Linked DNA regions of Homo sapiens: all the other regions are linked to region 1. The links are contacts of gene promoters, found by promoter capture Hi-C in blood cells and fetal thymus (Javierre and others, 2016). All regions are on one chromosome and are shown on one strand. The core of a region is centred on a gene start or on the middle of the fragment in contact, and the rest is flanking DNA. Distances in the headings are between cores, read along the strand shown. Region 1 overlaps TTYH1 (tweety family member 1). Region 2 holds the start of BRSK1 (BR serine/threonine kinase 1). Region 3 holds the start of TMEM86B (transmembrane protein 86B). Region 4 holds the start of PRKCG (protein kinase C gamma).

What was found. Contacts are between HindIII fragments. The CHiCAGO score rates a contact against its expected background, and 5 or more counts as called.
Region 2: a contact is called between the fragment with the promoter of BRSK1 here and a fragment that was not itself captured in region 1, in 1 of 17 cell types (fetal thymus). The highest score is 5.1, in fetal thymus.
Region 3: a contact is called between the fragment with the promoter of TMEM86B here and a fragment that was not itself captured in region 1, in 1 of 17 cell types (monocytes). The highest score is 5.7, in monocytes.
Region 4: the fragment with the promoter of PRKCG here is called in contact with a fragment that was not itself captured in region 1 in 1 of 17 cell types (monocytes); the score reaches 5.1 in monocytes.

What each region holds. Positions count from the first base shown.
Region 1 is chr19:54,436,409-54,440,795 of GRCh38, reverse strand. It overlaps TTYH1 (tweety family member 1), which reads right to left. Exons shown (of 14, transcript NM_020659.4): 14 at 3,892-4,387. Among named protein-coding and RNA genes, the nearest start is that of LENG8-AS1, 10 kb to the left of the region's middle. The HindIII fragment of the contact is 1,153 bases long and covers 1,352-2,504 here.
Region 2 is chr19:55,281,452-55,285,838 of GRCh38, reverse strand. It overlaps BRSK1 (BR serine/threonine kinase 1), which reads right to left and starts at 1,842. Exons shown (of 19, transcript NM_032430.2): 1 at 1,261-1,842. The coding sequence starts at 1,396. The HindIII fragment of the contact is 8,428 bases long and covers 1-2,548 here.
Region 3 is chr19:55,225,626-55,230,012 of GRCh38, reverse strand. TMEM86B (transmembrane protein 86B) reads left to right here and starts at 1,250. Exons shown (of 3, transcript NM_173804.5): 1 at 1,250-1,322; 2 at 1,576-1,822; 3 at 2,450-3,375. The coding sequence starts at 1,272. The coding sequence ends at 2,832. PPP6R1 (protein phosphatase 6 regulatory subunit 1) reads left to right here. Exons shown (of 24, transcript NM_014931.4): 24 at 1-234. The HindIII fragment of the contact is 5,765 bases long and covers 1-2,932 here.
Region 4 is chr19:53,879,493-53,883,879 of GRCh38, reverse strand. PRKCG (protein kinase C gamma) reads right to left here and starts at 1,683. Exons shown (of 18, transcript NM_002739.5): 1 at 1,216-1,683; 2 at 686-717. The coding sequence starts at 1,385. RefSeq lists an enhancer at 680-1,231. The HindIII fragment of the contact is 17,886 bases long and covers 1-4,387 here.

The DNA of each region.
Region 1 (4,387 bases), core at 679-3,178:
CTGCAGTAACAGAGGACCATGGACTGGTGGCTCAAAAACAACAAACACTTATTTCTCACAGTTCTGGAGGCTGGAAGTCCAAGATAATTTATTTTTATTTTTATTTATTTATTTTTTGAGATGGAGTCTCGCTCTGCTGCCCAGGCTGGAGTGCAATGGCGCGATCTTGGCTCACTGCAACCTTCGCCTCCCAGGTTCAAGAGATTCCCCTGCCTCAGGCTCCCGAGTAGCTGGGACTACAGGCACCCACCACTACACCCGGCGAATTTGTATATATTTAGTAGAGACAGGGTTTCACCATGTTGGCAAAGCTGGTCTCGAACACCTGAGTTCAGGTGATCTACCCACCTCGGTCTCCCAAAGTGCTGGGATTACAGGCGTGAGCCATCGCACCCGGCCCATAACTTCATTCTCAAAACAAAGCTCAAGAACAAAGCTCAGACTCCCTGCTTTGTCTCCTCTGCTCACGGAGTCCTCCCAGCTCCGCCTCAGTCTTCCCTCCCTGTCCCGTGGTCTAGAAACTTGCAACAGGACCCAGCGGCAATTTTAGGGCTTGCCTTGATGTTTCCCGTTCCTCAGGGATCACTTTCTTGGTAGAGTCTTGACCACTGTTGTTTTCTTGTATTTACTCTATTTTTGGGGGGTCAAGTCCAGTCTCTGTGACTCCATCCTGGTCGCAGTGGAAGCCCCCATAGGTAACATTCTAAAAATAACACTGGATTTTCCTTTTGTAAAGTTTGGGTAAAATGCCTTTTTTTTTTTTTTTTTTTTTTTTGAGACGGAGTCTTGCTCTGTCGCCCAGGCTGGAGTGCAGTGGCGCGATCTCGGCTCACTGCAAGCTCCGCATCCCGGGTTCAGGTGATTCTCCTGCCTCAGCCTCCTGAGTAGCTGGGATTGCAGGCGCCCGCCACCATGCCCGGCTAATTTTTGTGTTTAGTAGAGATGGGGTTTCACCGTGTTGGCCAGGCTGGTCTCAAACTCCTGACCTCAGGTGATCGCCTGCCCCAGCCTCCCACAGTGCTGGGATTACAGGCGTGAGCCAGGGTGCCCGGCCAACTTCTTGTTGAGAGATCACCCCCAGGCTCATTGGCATGGGAGATCAAGCAGCTGAGTCTCAAGGTACTTTGCAGCCGCCCAACAGCCAGCGGATGCCTGTGCTTGGGAAATGGGCTCAGGGGCACTAGAGGGCAGTGTTTGAGAGGAAAGAAGTCAGCATAGCAGCAGGGCCGGGCCTGGGGCAGACAGCCCACATGGTTAGGAAAAAGTGAGTGAACGCATGTGGCCCCCAGAACCCCTCCCTGAAATTGCAGTTGATTTTTATTCCCACCGTCAGGCCCACATATCTAAAGCTTCCTCTGAACGCTCCTTGCAGTACACAAAATAGAAATGATTGACAGGCACAGAGCAGCAGCAGGCCCCACGCTGTACACCAGCATCTGGCACTGTGGGTCACCAAGCACCAACTCGATCCCCTCGGAGCCAGGTGTGTGTTGAGATTCAGGATTTTTCAGTTGCAAAGGCAATATGATCTCTACTCCACAGGGCACACGGCACCCTCAGTGCTCAGCACAGCAGTGTGCAGCAGCCTGGTTAACTTTTCTGCAGGGAAGTATGTGAACGTTCACACCAAGCGTGTCAGTCATGTCTGTAAGTCATCTCCCACCAACACAGGTCAGGTTTTCCTGCCCAATGAGCTTGGGGATGGCTTGACTTTGGAGCTCTTTGGATCTGTGGATTTTGGAATTTTGGATTTCTGATACCCGTTTGATCAAAGAGGCAACCGAGGTCTAACGGGTCAAGTGACTTTCCCATATCCGTGAAGGTCATGAAAAGCAGGGCCAGGATGGTGGCCTGGGGTGCCTTGAATGATAAGCTGGGCCCTTCACTGTGCAGGCCCCTCTCCTTCAGTCCACTCTGCCACTGCTGTCTGCCACACCCTGCTCTGATAGCTCCTCTCTGCCAGGCTTTTCCCTCACATCCTCAACTCAGCCAAGAGCTGGTTTCTTCCAGAGAGCCCTGCTGTGCAGTCAGTTATTGGACTTCTCTTTTTGTGCATGTTTGTTTTCAGGGTTTAGCTGATCAAAGTGGTATCGTTGTAACAGGCAGCTCTAAATAGAAGTCTTCAGAAGCCTGTGTGTCTTTTTCTGTAAATCAATTCCCAAAAGCAGGATTGTTGGGGCATGGGGTGTATGCAGTTTTGATCTGATCACATACAAGCGCATTTTTTTTTTTTTTCAAGGGATGGTGGCAGCTCACAGCCTCAGGAGAAGTGTTTTGAGTGCCTGTTCCTCTAGGTCCTCGCCCGCCCAGGACATCACCACTCTTGTTAATTTCATTGTGTCTAGGTAGTGAAAAAGTGTAGTTTCTCATTCTTTCAAATTGCATTTCCCAATTATTAGAGTTTGAATCTTTTTGTCTGTTTACTGATGTTGGAATTTTTATTGAGTATTCAACTCAATTGATTACTTTTAAATGGGTTGTCTTTTTCTTAGTTTATGAAAGCTTTTGTAGATTATATCTTTTAAGAATAACATTTCTGCATCATAACTGTTAACATACACACACACACACACACACACACACACACACACACACGCACGCACACACTCACTGTTCCCCAGTCTGTCAATTTGCCATTTGACTTTACGGTATGTTTTTCAATCTATAATTTGCCAACTAAGCTATCTTTTCCTTTCTGGTTTTATGATCTCCTGCTTAAACTCCTCCCTCCCCATTTTCCCTACCCAGATACATGACATGCAGACAATATACAAATATTCTCCTAATTTCTCTGGTTTGTTTTGTTTTGTTTTGTTTTTTTCTGAGATGGAGTCTCACTTGATCTCCCAGGCTGGAGTACAGTGGTGCAACCTCCACCTCCCGGGTTCAAGCAATTCTCCTGCCTCAGCCTCCCGAGTAGCTGGGCTTACAGACCTGTGCCACCATGCCCAGCTAATTTTTTTTTTCTTTAAGTAGAGACGGGGTTTCACCATGTTGGCCACTCTGCTCTCAAACTCCTGGCCTCAAGGGATCCACCCACCTTGGCCTCTCAAAATGCTGGGATTACAGTCATGAGCCACCGCAGCCAGCCTCTCTCTGTTTTTTGTCTTTTTTTTTTTTTTTTTTTAAGAGGCAGGGTCTTGGCCGGGCGCGGTGGCTCACGCCTGTATTCCCAGCACTTTGGGAGGCCGAGACGGGCGGATCACGAGGTCAGGAGATCGAGACCATCTTGGCTAACACGGTGAAACCCCGTTTCTACTAAAAATACAAAAAATTAGCCGGACGTGTTGGCGGGCGCCTGTAGTCCCAGCTACTTGGGAGGCTGAGGCAGGAGAATGGCATGAACCTGGGAGGCGGAGCTTGCAGTGAGCCGAGATCGCGCCACTGCACTCCAACCTGGGTGACAGAGCGAGACTCCGTCTCAAAAACAAAAAAAAAAAAAAAAAAAGAGGCAGGGTCTTGCTCTGTTGCCCAGGCTGGAGTGCAGTGGCACGATCACAGCTCACTGCTACCTCGAAACGGGCTCAAGCAAGGAGTCTCAGCCTCCCGAGTAGCTGGAACCACAGGCATGCACCACCATGCCCACCCTCCTAATTTCTCTAGAAATTCTTCTGTGCCTTTACTTGCATACATCTAGATCTTCCACCCATCTTATCTATAGAAGTTTTTGGCCAGATGGAGAGCCGATATGTCACTACTGCTGCTAAACCAACCGTCCTTTCCACACTGACTTGAAATCTGTCTTCTGTCATGTGTGTATATATATATATACACACACACACACACACACACACAGTTAGATCTATTTCTAGGCCATCTATTCTGTGCCAGAGATGCCTGTGTCTTCCTGTGTCAGGACACGCGCATTACTTTTAGAATCAGAAGAAAGCGTTTTGTTTTTTGATTTTTTTTTTTTTTTTTTTAAAGAACAATGTCTTTGGACCCCTTGCTGAGCCTGGACAGGCGCAGAAATTCCTGGCAGCTGGGAGGCCGGGGGAGAGAGGACAGCAGGGAGGATGTCCCAGCCCTGGCCAGGAGGCCGAATCAAGGGAGAGGAGAAATAAGGAGGACCCAGCTGCTTGTAAAATAGTCTTCCCTTTTATTTTAAATCAACCCTTTTCCAAGTTAGTGCCACGAGTTGAGATCAGGGGGTCAGAGCCCACTGGGATGTGGCAGGGGCAGCAGGGGGACTCATGTCCCCCACCCCCAGCTTAGTCCCTCCAAGGATGGGACCGGCAGCCAGGGATGAAGGGTGCGAGGCGAGGCTGTCTGCCCCCTCCCCTGCCAGCCCTACTCCCTAGTCTGCCCCCTCAGCTACTCCCAAGGCCAAGGACAGAAATGGGAGCACAGTGGCCAAGAGCAGGGAGGCGGTCCTGTGCAGGCTGTC
Region 2 (4,387 bases), core at 593-3,092, 850 kb before region 1:
GGTCTCAGCTCCCAGTTACGGCCCAGTCGGTCCCCACTCCTGCCAGCTCTGGCCCTGAGCTTCATAGAGACTCTGGGCGTTCAGCTCCCATGTCACCTCCACCCACCATCCATCCGGCAGGAAGGAGGCCGCGGCCGGTGGCCAGCGTTCAGCAACAGCAGAGGATGAACGCCCTTTCCACAGCCGCTCCAGGAGACGCGCCTGCTGCAGCCCACCTTCCCACCCTCCATCCTGTTTCCCACTCTGAGCCAGCATGCCAGAGAAGGGGAGAATGTCTTAGGCCCCACGGCCCCTGTCACCCCAACCTGCTGCCTGGAGAACTGGAGGCCAGAGGACAGTGGGGAGGGAAGAGGTTTCCCAGGATGGATGCACTGCACCCCGGTCTGCAGCTGTACTGCAGCAAGAACCTCAGGTCCCAGCCCGGCCCCACTCTGCAGGCCGCCTCCATCCCCTCCCTGGCCCTGGAGCCCCTCCAGCCTCTGCCCCTATGGGGACTGGAGCACTGGGGCCCCAAACTCCCTGTCCCAACACTCAAGGTTCCGACCGCCCTCCTCCCTCAGACTCAGGAGTCCAGGCCCCCAGCCCCTCCTCCTTCAGACCCAGGAGTTCAGCACCCCTGCCCCTCCTCCCTCAGACCCAGGAGTCCAGACCCCAGACCCTCTTCCTTCATACTCAGGAGTCCAGGCCCCCAGGCCCTCCTCCCTCAGACCTGAAAGTCCAGGACCGCAGTCCCTCCTCCCTCAAACCCAAAAGTCCAGGACCCCAGTCCCCTCCTCCCTCAGACCCAGAAGTCCAGACCCCCAGCCCCTCCTCCCTCAGACCCTGGAGTCCAGGCCCCCAAGCCCTTCTCCTTCAGACCCAGGAGTGCAGGCCACCAGCCTCTCCTCCCTCAGACTCCGGAGTCCAAGCACAGCCCCTCCTCCCTGAAACCCAGGAGTCCAGACCCCCAGGCCCTCCTCCCTGAAACCCAGGAGTCCAGGCCCCCAGGCCCTCCTCCCTCAGACCTAGGAGTCCAGTGCCCAGCCCCTCCTCCCTCAGACCCAGGAGTCCAGGCCCCCAGCCCCTCTCCTCCAGGACCTGAGTCTGCGCCCCCCACCCCCTCCATCCAGGGACCCAGGAGTCTGAATCCCAAGTCCCTTCTCTATGAGGGGCCCAGGGGTCTGGGCAGCCAGCCCCTGCCATTTGAATACCCTGAGTCCCGCCTCTGCCGCCACCTCCACCCTGCCCCCCGCCCCAGGTGTCCCCTTCTGCTAGGCTCACCTGTCTGTCCTTTGCCCAGCGTCTTCTCCAGCCGATAGGGGCCCACATATTGGGCGTGCTGGGGTGGGTGGGGGTGGGGGTGGGGGAGGTGGTAGGCGGGAGAGCCCCCACCTCCCTCCTTGGCCCCGGACGACATGGTGCCCTTGGTCCCGGCCCGACCGGTCCCCCGGCCGCCCCCCCTGCGGCCGTCGCCCCGTCTCTCCGGTGGGGGCCGGCGACCGCTCCGTCCCGGCCCCCCCGGCTGCCCCCCACCTCTCCGGGGGTCCCCAGGGGGCTGGGCTGGCCCCCCCCAGTCGGCGGGCCGCGGAGCTGGGGGAGGGGGGGCTGGCCCGGGGGGGTCAGGCCCCGGGAGTCAGCATGGCCCAGGGGGGCTGCGGGGCCCCCCCTCCCCAGCCCGTTTCTGGCCGGCCCCCCGCTTCCTGCGCCTCCCCCCGCCGGGGGGGTCTGAGGTGCGGGCCGGCGGATGCTGCAGGCCGAGGTCCCCCCCGCCCCCCCACGCGCCCTCTCTCCTCCGCCTCCTCCTCCTCTCCGCCTCCCCCCGCCACCTCGTCCTTTCTCTCCGGCACGCTGACATCACCATCCGGGGACTCCGGGCCCTTCCCCAAAGTTAACCCTTTCGGAGGGGGGAGGGGGAGCGAGGGGGGGCAGGGGGCGGGCCTCCAGCTGGAGGGATGGAGAGGAGGTGGGAGGATGCAGGAGAGAGGATGGAGGGAAGGATGGAGAGAGAGAGAGAGGACCCAACAGATGGGGCAGAGATGGAGATACACAAAGAGAGATGCTGGCTGACACAGAGACGGGAGACAGGCAGAGACGCCAGAGGGATGGAGACCACCAGAGACAGGCTGAGGCAGAGAGGGAGGAAGGGCAGAGATGGACAGGGACAGAAGAGAAGGAAGGAATGGCAAGCCGGGAAAACAGACAGGGAGAGGGAGAGAAAGCTGCTGGAAGCCGACAGAGGGATGGAGAGAGTCAGAGATTCAGAGAGACAGAGAGAGGAAGACCAACCAGAGAGGTGGGGGAGAGGGGGCGCAGATGGAGCTGTAGAGAGGGCCGGGGGTACACACAGGTGGAGGGACACGTGCTGGGGAGAGGTGGGGACATATGGAGGGAGACAGAGACAGAGAGGGGAAAGAATTCTTGGAGTTGCTGACCCAAAATTCATGTCTGTTTCCCCAGCCCCCTAAGGCCACCCATTCAGGGTAAGGGTAAGTCTGTGTCCCCACCAATGTCAAGGCCCCATATCTACCCACAGCCCAGAGTGATTTTGGATTCTCTTTACAGAGAAGCTTCCAGAACCCCCTCAGTTTCCCTGTGTTATGTTTTTAGACCCCCATATATTCTCTGTGCTCGTCATAGGGTCCTTTATATCTTCATGTGGACCCCAGTACAGCCCATACATCCCCACTGTAGCAGGTCCACAAGCATGTGCTCTGCCTGTGAGTAACCCGCCTGCCCCCATTAGCTTTCCGCATAAACCATAGATCCCTCTATGTCATGTACCCGCAAGTGTTAGACACCCATTTAATTCTCAAGTCCCCTGTAAAGCACACCCAGGGCTGGGCAAGGTGGCTCATGCCTGTAATCCCAATACTTTGGGAGACAGAGGTGGGAAGATCAGCCTGGGCAACACAGTGAGACCCCATCCCTACAAAAATTTTTTTAAAAATTAGCCGGGCATGGTGGCATGTGCCTGTAGTCCCAGCTACTTGGGAGGCTGAGGCTTGAGTCAGTGAGTTCTAGGCTGCAGTGAGCTACGTTTGCACCACTGCACTCCAGCCTGAGCAACAGAGTGAGGCCCTGTCTCTAACAAAAATAAAATAAAATAAAGTGCACACAGGAGCCTATTGGCTCCTGTGAGATTTCCCAGTCCCCCATTCAACACCTTGAGTCCACACATCTTTAATGAGTGCCAAATCTCAGCCAGGCACTGTTCCTGTTGGTAAGAACGTGGCAGTGACCTAAATCAGCAAAAAGGCCTGTCCTGTGGAGCTTCCATGCTGGTGGATGAAACAGATGATCAGCAAGGTCAATAGGCAAAATGTATGGTGTGTTAGATAATCATGTCCGTGCTGAGGAGGTGACTACAGCAGGGAAGGGGGTTAAGAGGGGCCTGTTGAGCAGGGTACAATTTTAGGCGTCCGGCTTTTTTTGTATTTTTAGTAGAGATGGAGTTTCACCCTGTTAGCCAGGCTGGTTCTGTAGCCTTTTTTTTTTTTTTTTTTTTTTTTTTTTTTTTTTTTTGAGACGGAATCTTGCTCTGTCTCCCAGGCTGGAGTGCAGTGGCACAATCTCAGCTCACTACAACCTCCACATCCTGGGTTCAAGCGATTCTCCTGCCTCAGCCTCCCGAGTAGCTGGGATTATAGGCACCCGCCACCATGCCTGGCTAATTTTTGTATTTTTAGTAGAGATGGGGTTTCACCATGTTGGTCAGGCTGGTCTCAAACTCCTGACCTTGTGATTTGCCCACCTCAGCTTCCCAAAGTGCTGGGATTACAGGCGTGAGCTACCACACCTGGCCTGGTTCTGTAACTATTGAGTCCCTTTTTGCTCTCAAATGTCTTGCTATAGATGAAAAATTATATGATCACCCTCTTTTTTTTGTTTTGTTTTGTTTTTTGAGACAGGGTCTTCCCCCTGTTGCCTAGGCTGGGGTGCAGTAGGGCAGTCATAGTTCCCTGCAGCCTCGACCTCCTGGGCTCAAGTGATCCTCCTGCCTCAGCCTCCTGCCTAGCTGTGATATAAGCAGATGCCATCACACATGGCTAATTCTTGTATTTTTTTGTAGGGCTGGGGACACACTATGTTGCCCAGGCTGGTCTCGAGCTCTTGGGTTCAAGTGATCCTCCCACCTTGGCCTCCCAAAGTACTGAGATTATAGACCTGAGCCACTGCCCCCGGCCATGTATTATAAACTGATAGACTTGTACATAGATGTCCGTGTCCTAATTCCCAGGATCTGTGCATAAGTTACCTTGCATGGCTGAAGGGACTTTGCCCATGTGACTGAGATAGGGAGATTATCCCAGTTATTTGGGTGAGCTCGATGGAATCACAAGAGTATTTGTGAGAAGGAGGCAGGAGGAGCAGTCAGTGATGGAGATGGGAAGGTGGAAGCAGAACTTGG
Region 3 (4,387 bases), core at 1-2,500, 790 kb before region 1:
GTGGGGGCCGTGCCTTTGCCCAGACCCTGCACTTTCAACCAGGCCAGTCCGGCTCTGGGGAGCAGGGGCCTCCCCGGCAACAGCCCCAGGGGCCTTGAGGGTCTGAGGTCCCAGCCCTGTTGCCAAGTGACCTTGTCCCCAGCTCCCTCCTCCCAGGCTGGTGTGAGTGTGCGTGCGTTTGTGCCGAGCTTCTATTTCATATTGCAAATATAAATAAAGGAAGGCAGTTTACGATTCTGCTGGTCAGACCTTACGTTCTGGGATGCGGGGTGGGGAGCCTGTATTATCCCTGCACCCCAGAGGCTGGGGGTGCTCCTGACCCAGTCTGCCCCCACACTGTCCTGCCAGAGGGAGCCCTGTGGCTGCAGAGGCCCCAGGCTGGGCCAGGCACTGGCTGTGAGGGCTCCTGCCAGGTCTACCCCACCTGTGGGCAGGGCCTTGGGCAGAGGATAGAAGCCACCGACAGGCTCAAATCCCTGCTCCTGCCCCTGCTTACCCCCAGTAACCAAGCCCAGCATTGAGGCTGGGTACTGGCGCCCAGTAGGTCTGAGTCTTTCAGGTAGAAGGTAGAAGTGTAGGCTGCGTGTGCAGCGAGTGGCACCGGTGAGCGGCGCTGGGAAACCGGAGCGTGTGGACCGGGCCATGAGGACAGCGTCCTCACTGGGGTGGCAGTTGGCTTGGAGGTCACCTGGGGGCTCGCTCAGCTAACAGGAGAGGGTGCTTGTTCCCCGCATTCGTGGTGGTCCCTCCTGGTCACCCATTGAAGCAGTGTTTGTGGTGGAGCCCCTGAGGGCTTGGTGGGGTTGAGCAGAATGAGGAAAGGTTTCATGGAGCAGGGAGGGAGACGGCTAGGGCAGCAAGTGAAGGACAGACTCGCCTTCCCATCCCTCCAGGGGCACTCCTGCCAGCCAGCCCCTCTCCCGCTTCCCATGATGGGGTGGCTGTTGGAATTCTGCACCCCATCTCTTCTGATTGTTGGGGCCCAGGACAAGGGGACAGGCATTTGTGGGCCTAACCTCCCCAGGCAGATAGGAGGAGGAAGCCATGTCCCAGCAGGCTAGGGCAGAGGGACCCCCAGTGCCAACAGTGCTTTATCAGCGGGCGCCAGGCAGGGCCATCCCCAGGGTGAGGACAACATCTCCCTGGGCCCTGTTATCAGTCACAGAGTCCACAGGACGCTCCTTGGGTTAACGTGTAACCATGAGCCCTCCCCTCCACCCCCTGAAGCCACTCGCTCCCAGATTAGGTCGCTCTGGGGCTATCAGGCCAGCATGGACGCTGGCAAAGCGGGGCAGACCCTGAAGACTCACTGCTCAGCCCAGGTGAGAGCCTTCTGAGCTGTGCCTGGGGCTGGGGGGACAGGGCCCTGGAACCCCAGCAGCCGGCGGGTCTGGGAGCTGCTGTCCTTGAGTTGGTTGGGCCCTGGGAAGCTGGGTTCTGGCAGCCTGGTCCCTGAATGGGTCCAGCCTGTACAGCTGGGGTCCCAGGTGGGGGTGGGACAGGAGCCATGAGATCTGAGTCCCAAGAATGGGGGCTGGGCTGGGTTTCGGCTCAGTAGCTCCCCACTCCCCAAAGCGCCCAGATGTCTGCAGGTGGCTGAGCCCCTTCATCCTCTCCTGCTGCGTGTACTTCTGCCTCTGGATTCCCGAGGACCAGCTGTCCTGGTTCGCTGCCCTGGTCAAGTGCCTGCCCGTCCTCTGCCTGGCTGGGTTCCTGTGGGTCATGTCCCCAAGCGGGGGCTACACCCAGCTCCTCCAGGGAGCCCTTGTGTGCTCGGCTGTGGGGGACGCTTGCCTCATCTGGCCGGCAGCCTTCGTCCCTGGTGAGTGGAAGGTGCTGTGACGCTTTCCAGATGCCCGTGTGAGAGAGGCCCCAGCACTTGGATGGGAGCCTGGGTGCAGAGGGCTCCTGTGAGAGCTCCAGTGGTCAAAGGCACAGTGGGGGGCGCAGCCGTGACCGAGGCAGCTCACGCTCCAGCGAGGGGTGGGGGCAGGCGGTGTTAGGGCAGTAGCTGAGGTGGCGCAGAGGGCAGTGAGGACCTGCTGGAGGTACTGCAGTTTGAAGCAGGGTTGCTGAGGAAGGCCTCACTGAGGAAGTCACATTTGGGCAGAGCTGAAGGGCTGTATGCCTGTGTGGAGGAAGGGCGAGTGTAAAGGCTCCGGGGCAGGGACGTGTCAGGTGCTTGTAGCCCAGCAGGCCAGGGTGGCTGGCGCAGAGTGGCTGGAGAGCTGGAGGCCATGGGGCTTTGGAGGCCAAGGGAAGGTGGGGCCTCCTGGCAGTTCTGAGCAGAGCAAGGATGGACACTGCATGTGGGGAGACCTGCAAGGAGGCTCGGCCAGGGTGGGGCCTGGTGCTCTGGGATGGTCCTTCTCTTAGGCCCTGAGGGGTGACCTCGGGGCCATTCCCAGGATGGGCCTTCCTCACTGGTACCCCACCCCTCTCCCGCCAGGCATGGCCGCCTTTGCCACCGCCCACCTCCTCTACGTCTGGGCCTTCGGCTTCTCTCCCCTGCAGCCCGGCCTGCTGCTGCTCATCATCCTGGCCCCTGGCCCCTACCTCAGCCTTGTGCTCCAGCACCTCGAGCCGGATATGGTCCTGCCGGTGGCAGCCTATGGGCTGATCCTGATGGCCATGCTGTGGCGCGGCCTGGCCCAGGGCGGGAGTGCCGGCTGGGGCGCGCTGCTCTTCACGCTCTCTGATGGCGTGCTGGCCTGGGACACCTTCGCCCAGCCCCTGCCCCATGCCCACCTGGTGATCATGACCACCTACTATGCTGCCCAGCTCCTCATCACACTGTCAGCCCTCAGGAGCCCGGTGCCCAAGACTGACTGACTAGGGAGCTTGAAGGGCCGGTGTTCAGGCCCTCTCCTCCTGCAAGGACCTGGGCCTCCCAGCCCAGCCCAGCCTGAGAAATACCCTCAGCAGCGAAGCTTCCTGACGCCTGTCTGCAGGCGCCGCTGCCGCCGTCGCTTCTGGCTGAAGACGTTTGAGGACGATTTGCGGAATTCCAAGTCCACTACTGGGTTCCAGCTGCCTTCCCCCGGTTCTGACTCCAGATCCCTGGCTCCTCAGCCAGGCCCACATGGAGCCCTCCCAGCCACCAGCCTGCCTCCATGTTCACTGTCGGCCCCACAGCCTGCCCGCCCCCTGCTGCTGCTCTGAATCCGTTTTCCCTGTGGGTGTGGAACCGTAGATGTTGCTGTTACCGTAGGAGAGGCCTCGGGGAGGGTCATGATTGTGATAAACCATCGCGGTTAATGACAGCAGAAGGTTCTTTGTCGCTCCCCATGGACCAGGCCTGGTGCCCAGTGGGACCCTCCATGGCCCTCTGGTGGGGGGATTCGGGGGGATAAAGTGAGGATTGTGCAGAACTGAGCCAAGAGGACTGTTTGGTCTTTGTGTTAGTTTCCTGAGGCTGCTGTCACAAATTACCCCAAGCCAGATGCTTTGAAACAAGATGAATGGACTCTCCTGCAGTTCTGGAGACCCAAAGTCCAAAATCCGGGTGTTTTCCGGCCCATGGTCCCTCTTGAGGCTCCAGGGAAGAATCCGTCCTTGCCCTCTCGGCTTCTGGAGGCTCCCGGGAATCCCTGGCTTCCATCGGCCTGTGGCTGTGTCTCTCCGTCTTCATGTGACTGTCTTCAACTGGCAGCCTCCCTCTGTGTCCGCATCCTTCTAGGGACACAGGTCATTGGATTTAGGGCCCACCCTAAACCCAGGGTGATTCTATCTCAAGATCCTTAAGTATGTCTGCAAAGCCCCTATTTCCAAGTAGTGTCACCTGCAGAGGTATCTGGGGTTAGGACTTGGACATATCTTTCTAGGGGATACAACCCGCTGCAGTCACATGCAGTATCGGGAGAAGGGTGGGAGGCTTGAGGATGAGGGGTCTTGGAGGAGGGAGGGCGGCAAGGGGGTAGGAATCAAATGGGAAGGAGGAACCCAGCTGTGCTCCTTGTCAAGGCTGTGTGACCTCGGCAAGCTGCTATCCCTCAGGTCCTCAGATTCTGCATCTGAAGACTTGACAGGGTCCAAGCTGCTCTCCAAGACCCTATTTGACTTCTGCATCCATGATGTGCTTTCAGTGACTCATAGCAGAGGGGCGACTTCTCCATCCATGGTTAGCATTTAGAGACTCTTACAGCAGAGAGGCGACCTCTCTATCCATGACCTGCATTTAGGGACTCTTAGAGCAGAGGTGACTTCTCCATCCATGACCTGCATTTAGGGACTCTTACGACAGAGAGGGGACTTCTCCATCCATGGCCAGCATTTAGGGACTCTTACAGCAGAGAGGTGACTTCTCCATCCATGACCTGCATTTAGGGACTCAGATGTGAGAGTACAGAGGTGGGAAGGGAAGGTGGGGAGCCTGGAGGACGGGGAC
Region 4 (4,387 bases), core at 434-2,933, 560 kb after region 1:
AGAAAGAAAATAGGATCCCATTGACAAACAGACACAGGCCCACGGACGGAGATCAGAAAGCCAGGAGAGAGGCAGACAGATTCAAAGAGCGAAAACCGAAATATCTTCAGACGCAGCCCAGGAAGCAGCAACTTGGGCAGAAGTGAGTCTGGGGGCGCTGCTGCCGGCCCGCCCCCCACCCTGACTCACTCTGTTCTCAGCAGTAGCAGCTGGTGCTCAAGGACTCGCCCCCCTCTCCCGCCCCCCAGAACTGCCGGCCCCGCCCGGCCCCCACTCGCCCATTGGTGACCCCACCCGGCCTGCCCCTGCCTAGGACGGCTGGTGTTGTCATGGCGACGGCAGCCTGGGGTGGGGGGGGGCTCTGACTTTGCATCTCCAGCCCCCTCCCCCTTCCCCCCTTCAGCTCCCCTTTTCCAAATCTCCATGTTCCCATGGCAACAGATTCTCCAAATATCTGTCCCCACCTGGAGCCGGCCGAGGGAGGGGCCCCCAGCACCACCTCCGCGGTGGCCCCACCATCAAAGCTCCCTCCCCACCACAGGCTGTGTCTCTGCCACACCCCCCGCCCCGGGCTCCCCCGCGCCTCTCTGGGGACCAGAGAACACGTGTGTCAAGCAGCCTCAGCTGTGGGGCCCCAGCCTCCACCCTCCTGAGGGTCCCAGGAGCCCCGGTCCCCAGCTCTTACCTTGACATTGCAGGCCCTGCTTTCCGATACCCCTGGAAGAGTCAGGGATCCTAGGTCAGTGCAGAAAGGGGTACCTGGACCCCCAACCTCTGCGAGCCACAGGGGGCCTGCGCTCTCTGACCCTCCTCCCGCAGGGCCCAGGTGTCCAAGCCCCGGCCACCTCCTCTTTCTAGAACCCAGAAATTTTGGCCCCCAGCCCTTCTTCCCTTAGACTGGAGTTCAGCCCCCAGTTTCTTCCTCCTTCAGACCCAGGAATCCAGGCTCCCAGCCCCCCAGGCCCTTCCTCCCTCAGACCCAAGACTCCAGGACCTCTGTCCTCCAGCCTCCTCCTCCCTCGGACCCAGCACTCCAGGAACCAGCCTCCTCCTCACTGAAACCCAGGAGTCGAAGCTCCCAGCGTTCCCTGGCCATCCTAGAACCTGGGAGTCGGGACTACAGCCCCCTCCTTCTTCCTTCCACAGGGGTCGGCGTGATAGGAGTCTGCACCCCTAGTCCCCTCGTCCCCCAGTCCCCCAGCCCCCTTCCCTCACCAGATGAAGTCGGTGCAGTGGCTGCAGAAGGTGGGCTGCTTGAAGAAGCGAGCGGTGAACTTGTGGCTCTTGACTTCGTGGACCACCTTCTGCCTCAGGGCCCCCTTTCTGCAAAACAGGGGCCGGGGTCCCCCCTCTGAATCGCCTACGCCGGGGCCCAGACCAGCCATGGCCCCAGAAACGTAGCAGGGACCAGGATCCTGCCTTTCTTGGGGGAAACAGGTGGAAGGGAGAGGAGCTGGAGACTCGAAGGATCAAAGGAGCCACAGGGAAATTCCGAGGTGGGCAGGAGAGGGGCAAGGCACCTCCAGGTGCGGAGCGCGCCAGGCAGGGAGCGGCACCCCGGGCGCGCCGGCTCCGCCAGGGGGAGCGGGCGAGTGGGGAGGAAGAGCCAAAGGCAGGGGCGCCGGCAGCCGGAGGCACGGGCGGCGGCGGTGGGAGCTCCAGCTCCGGCACCTGCTGAAATGTGGGAGCCCCGGGTTGGGGGAGGCGTTGCCAGGACGACCGAGAGGGCGGGGTTTCGGCTTAAAGGCGCTCCCCTCCCGGAGACACGGGACAAATGTCCTCCCTCCCCGCCCCCCACACGTGCACACACCCACTCCGGGGGCTGGCTGGAGGGAGGGGCATCCTCTGAGCCTGGCTCCCCCCCACCACCCTGCAATCTGTCATCCTGCCCCGCGTTCCTCCCCCACTAGGGTGCCTCGTGTGTCCTGTGGGCGCCCTGGGGTCCCTGTGTCTGACCCTGCCCCTCTCCTTCCTTCAACAAACTTTATGCTCCACGCTAGGGGTCCAGCAGTGGACAGGCAGGGCGCTAAGGTTCTCACTTTCTCCGATGCCGGCTGAGTCTTTATTTCCTCCCCTGGCCTCTCCATTATTTGTGTAGCTCTCTGCCTGCGTGTGTCTTTCTTGTGACCTCTGTCCCTCTCCCTCTATTCCTGGAGCGAGCTTTCTCGATGTGTCTCTGTTTCTGCCTCTCAGTGGATCTGTTTTCTTTTCCCTGTCTCCGAGAAATGCTGTTTCTATTTCTTTCTATTTCTCTATTTCCTCTGCTGTGTGTCTCCATCTGTATCTGTCGCCATCTCTGGGTCTTGGTGTCGTGGTTCTTCTCGGGGTCTTGGTCTGCCTCACTGTGAATCAGTCTCCCTCTGTCTCTCCCTCTACGTCTGATAAATTCTTCCGCCTCTGTCTCCCTGAGTTTGTTTCTTTCCCTGTCTTTGTCTCTCTGGCTCTGTGAATCTCTATTCTCTCTCAGGCTGTGACTCTGTCTCCCCCTCCCTCTGCAACTTGATCTCTTTGGGAGTCCGTCTCTGTCTTCCTCTCTGGGAGTCACTCTCTAAATGCTTGCCCCTGTCTCTCCCTCTCTCTCCTCACCTCCACCCGTCTTTATAAATGCCTTTGTCTCTGTCTCTCTCCCTTCCTCCGGTTCTGCAACTCCGTCTCTGTTTTTGTTTGTCTCTTCCTATATCTCTCTGGTTCCATCTGTTTCTCTGTACTTGTCCCTCTCTGGCTCTGTTGATCTCTCTCTCTCTCTCTGATGCTAGGGGGGTCTCTCTCCTGTCTATGACTCAGTCTCTCTCTCCCTCTTCTCTTCTCTGTCTCTGTCCCTTTCTCTCTGACCCAATCTCTCTCCCTCTTCTCTTCTCTGTCTCTGTCTCTGTCCCTTTCTCTCTGACCCAATCTCTATTTGTCTCTCTGGCTCTATGAATCTCTTTCTGTTTCTGGGGATCTCCCCGTCCCTCTGTGTCTGTGATTCACTCTCCCTGTGTCTCTGGCTCTCTGAATCTATTCATCTCTCTGACTCTCTGAATCTGTGTCTCTGGCTCTATGAATGTCTATGTCTCTCTGACTCTGAATCTGTGTCTCCGGCTCTATGAATGTCTCTCTATGTCTCTCTGACTCCCTGAATCTGTGTCTCTGGCTCTATAAATCTATGTCTCTCTGACTCTGAATCTCTCTGTGTCTCCGGCTCTATGAATGTCTCTCTATGTCTCTCTGACTCTGAATCTCTCTGTGTCTCTGGCTCTATGAATCTCTATGTTTCTCTGACTCTGAATCTCTCTGTGTCTCTGGCTCTATGAATGTCTTTCTATGTCTCTCTGACTCTCTGAATCTCTGTGTCTCTGGCTCTATGAATCTCTATGTCTCTATGAATCTCTGTGTCTCTGGCTCTATGAATCTCTTTCTATGTCTCTCTGACTCTCCGAATCCCTCTGTGTCTCTGGCTCTATGAATCTCTCTGTTTGTCTCTTTGGCTCTGTGAATCTCTGTGATTCAGGCTCTCTGAATCTCTCTATATGTCTATGAATCTCTCTGTGTCTCTGGCTCTATGAATGTCTCTCTATGTCTCTCTGACTCTCTGAATCTCTGTGTCTCTGGCTCTATGAATCTTTCTATGTCTCTCTGACTCTCCGAATCTGTGTCTCTGGCTCTATGAATCTCTCTGTTTGTCTCGTTGGCTCTGTGAATCTCTGTGATTCAGGCTCTCTGAATCTCTCTATATGTCTCTATGAATCTCTCTGTGTCTCTGGCTCTCTGAATCTCTGTCTCTGGCTCTAGGAATCTCTGTCGAGGGTCTCTAGATAGAGACTTCCCTCTCTGTGTCTCTGTGATTCAGTCTCTCTCCCTCTTCCCTTTTCTGTGTCTCTCTCTCTGTCCCCTTCTCTGACCCACTCCATGTGTCTATCTGGCCCTGTGAGTCTCTCTCCATCTCTGAGGTCTCTCCCTCTCTCCCTGTGTCTCTGTGATTCAGTCTCTCTCCCTCCTGTCTTTTCTATGTCTCTGTCCTCTGTCCTCTTCTCTGACCCACTCTACGTGTCTCTCTGGCCCTGTGAATCTCTCTGTCTTTGAGGTCTCTCCCTCCCTCTAAGTGTCTCTGTGATTCAATCCCTGTCTCCCTCTCTCTAGATCTCGCTGGCTTCGGCATCCTCTCTGTGCGCCCCCTCTCAGGAAAGGGGTCTCTCCAAGGGCCGGCGCGGTCAGTCTCTTCCGGCCTCCACACCTCTTGGTCGCTCTACCCGCGTCCCCGCCTCTCTCTGGTCGGGCTCTGCGCCTCCCCGGCTCGGGAGCGCTTCCCAGTCCCCGCTCCCGGGAGACCCTCTCTGTTGCCAGGGGCAACCACGGCCCGCCCCGGGCTGCGGGCGCAGTGCATTCTGGGACTGGTAGTCCGAGCCTG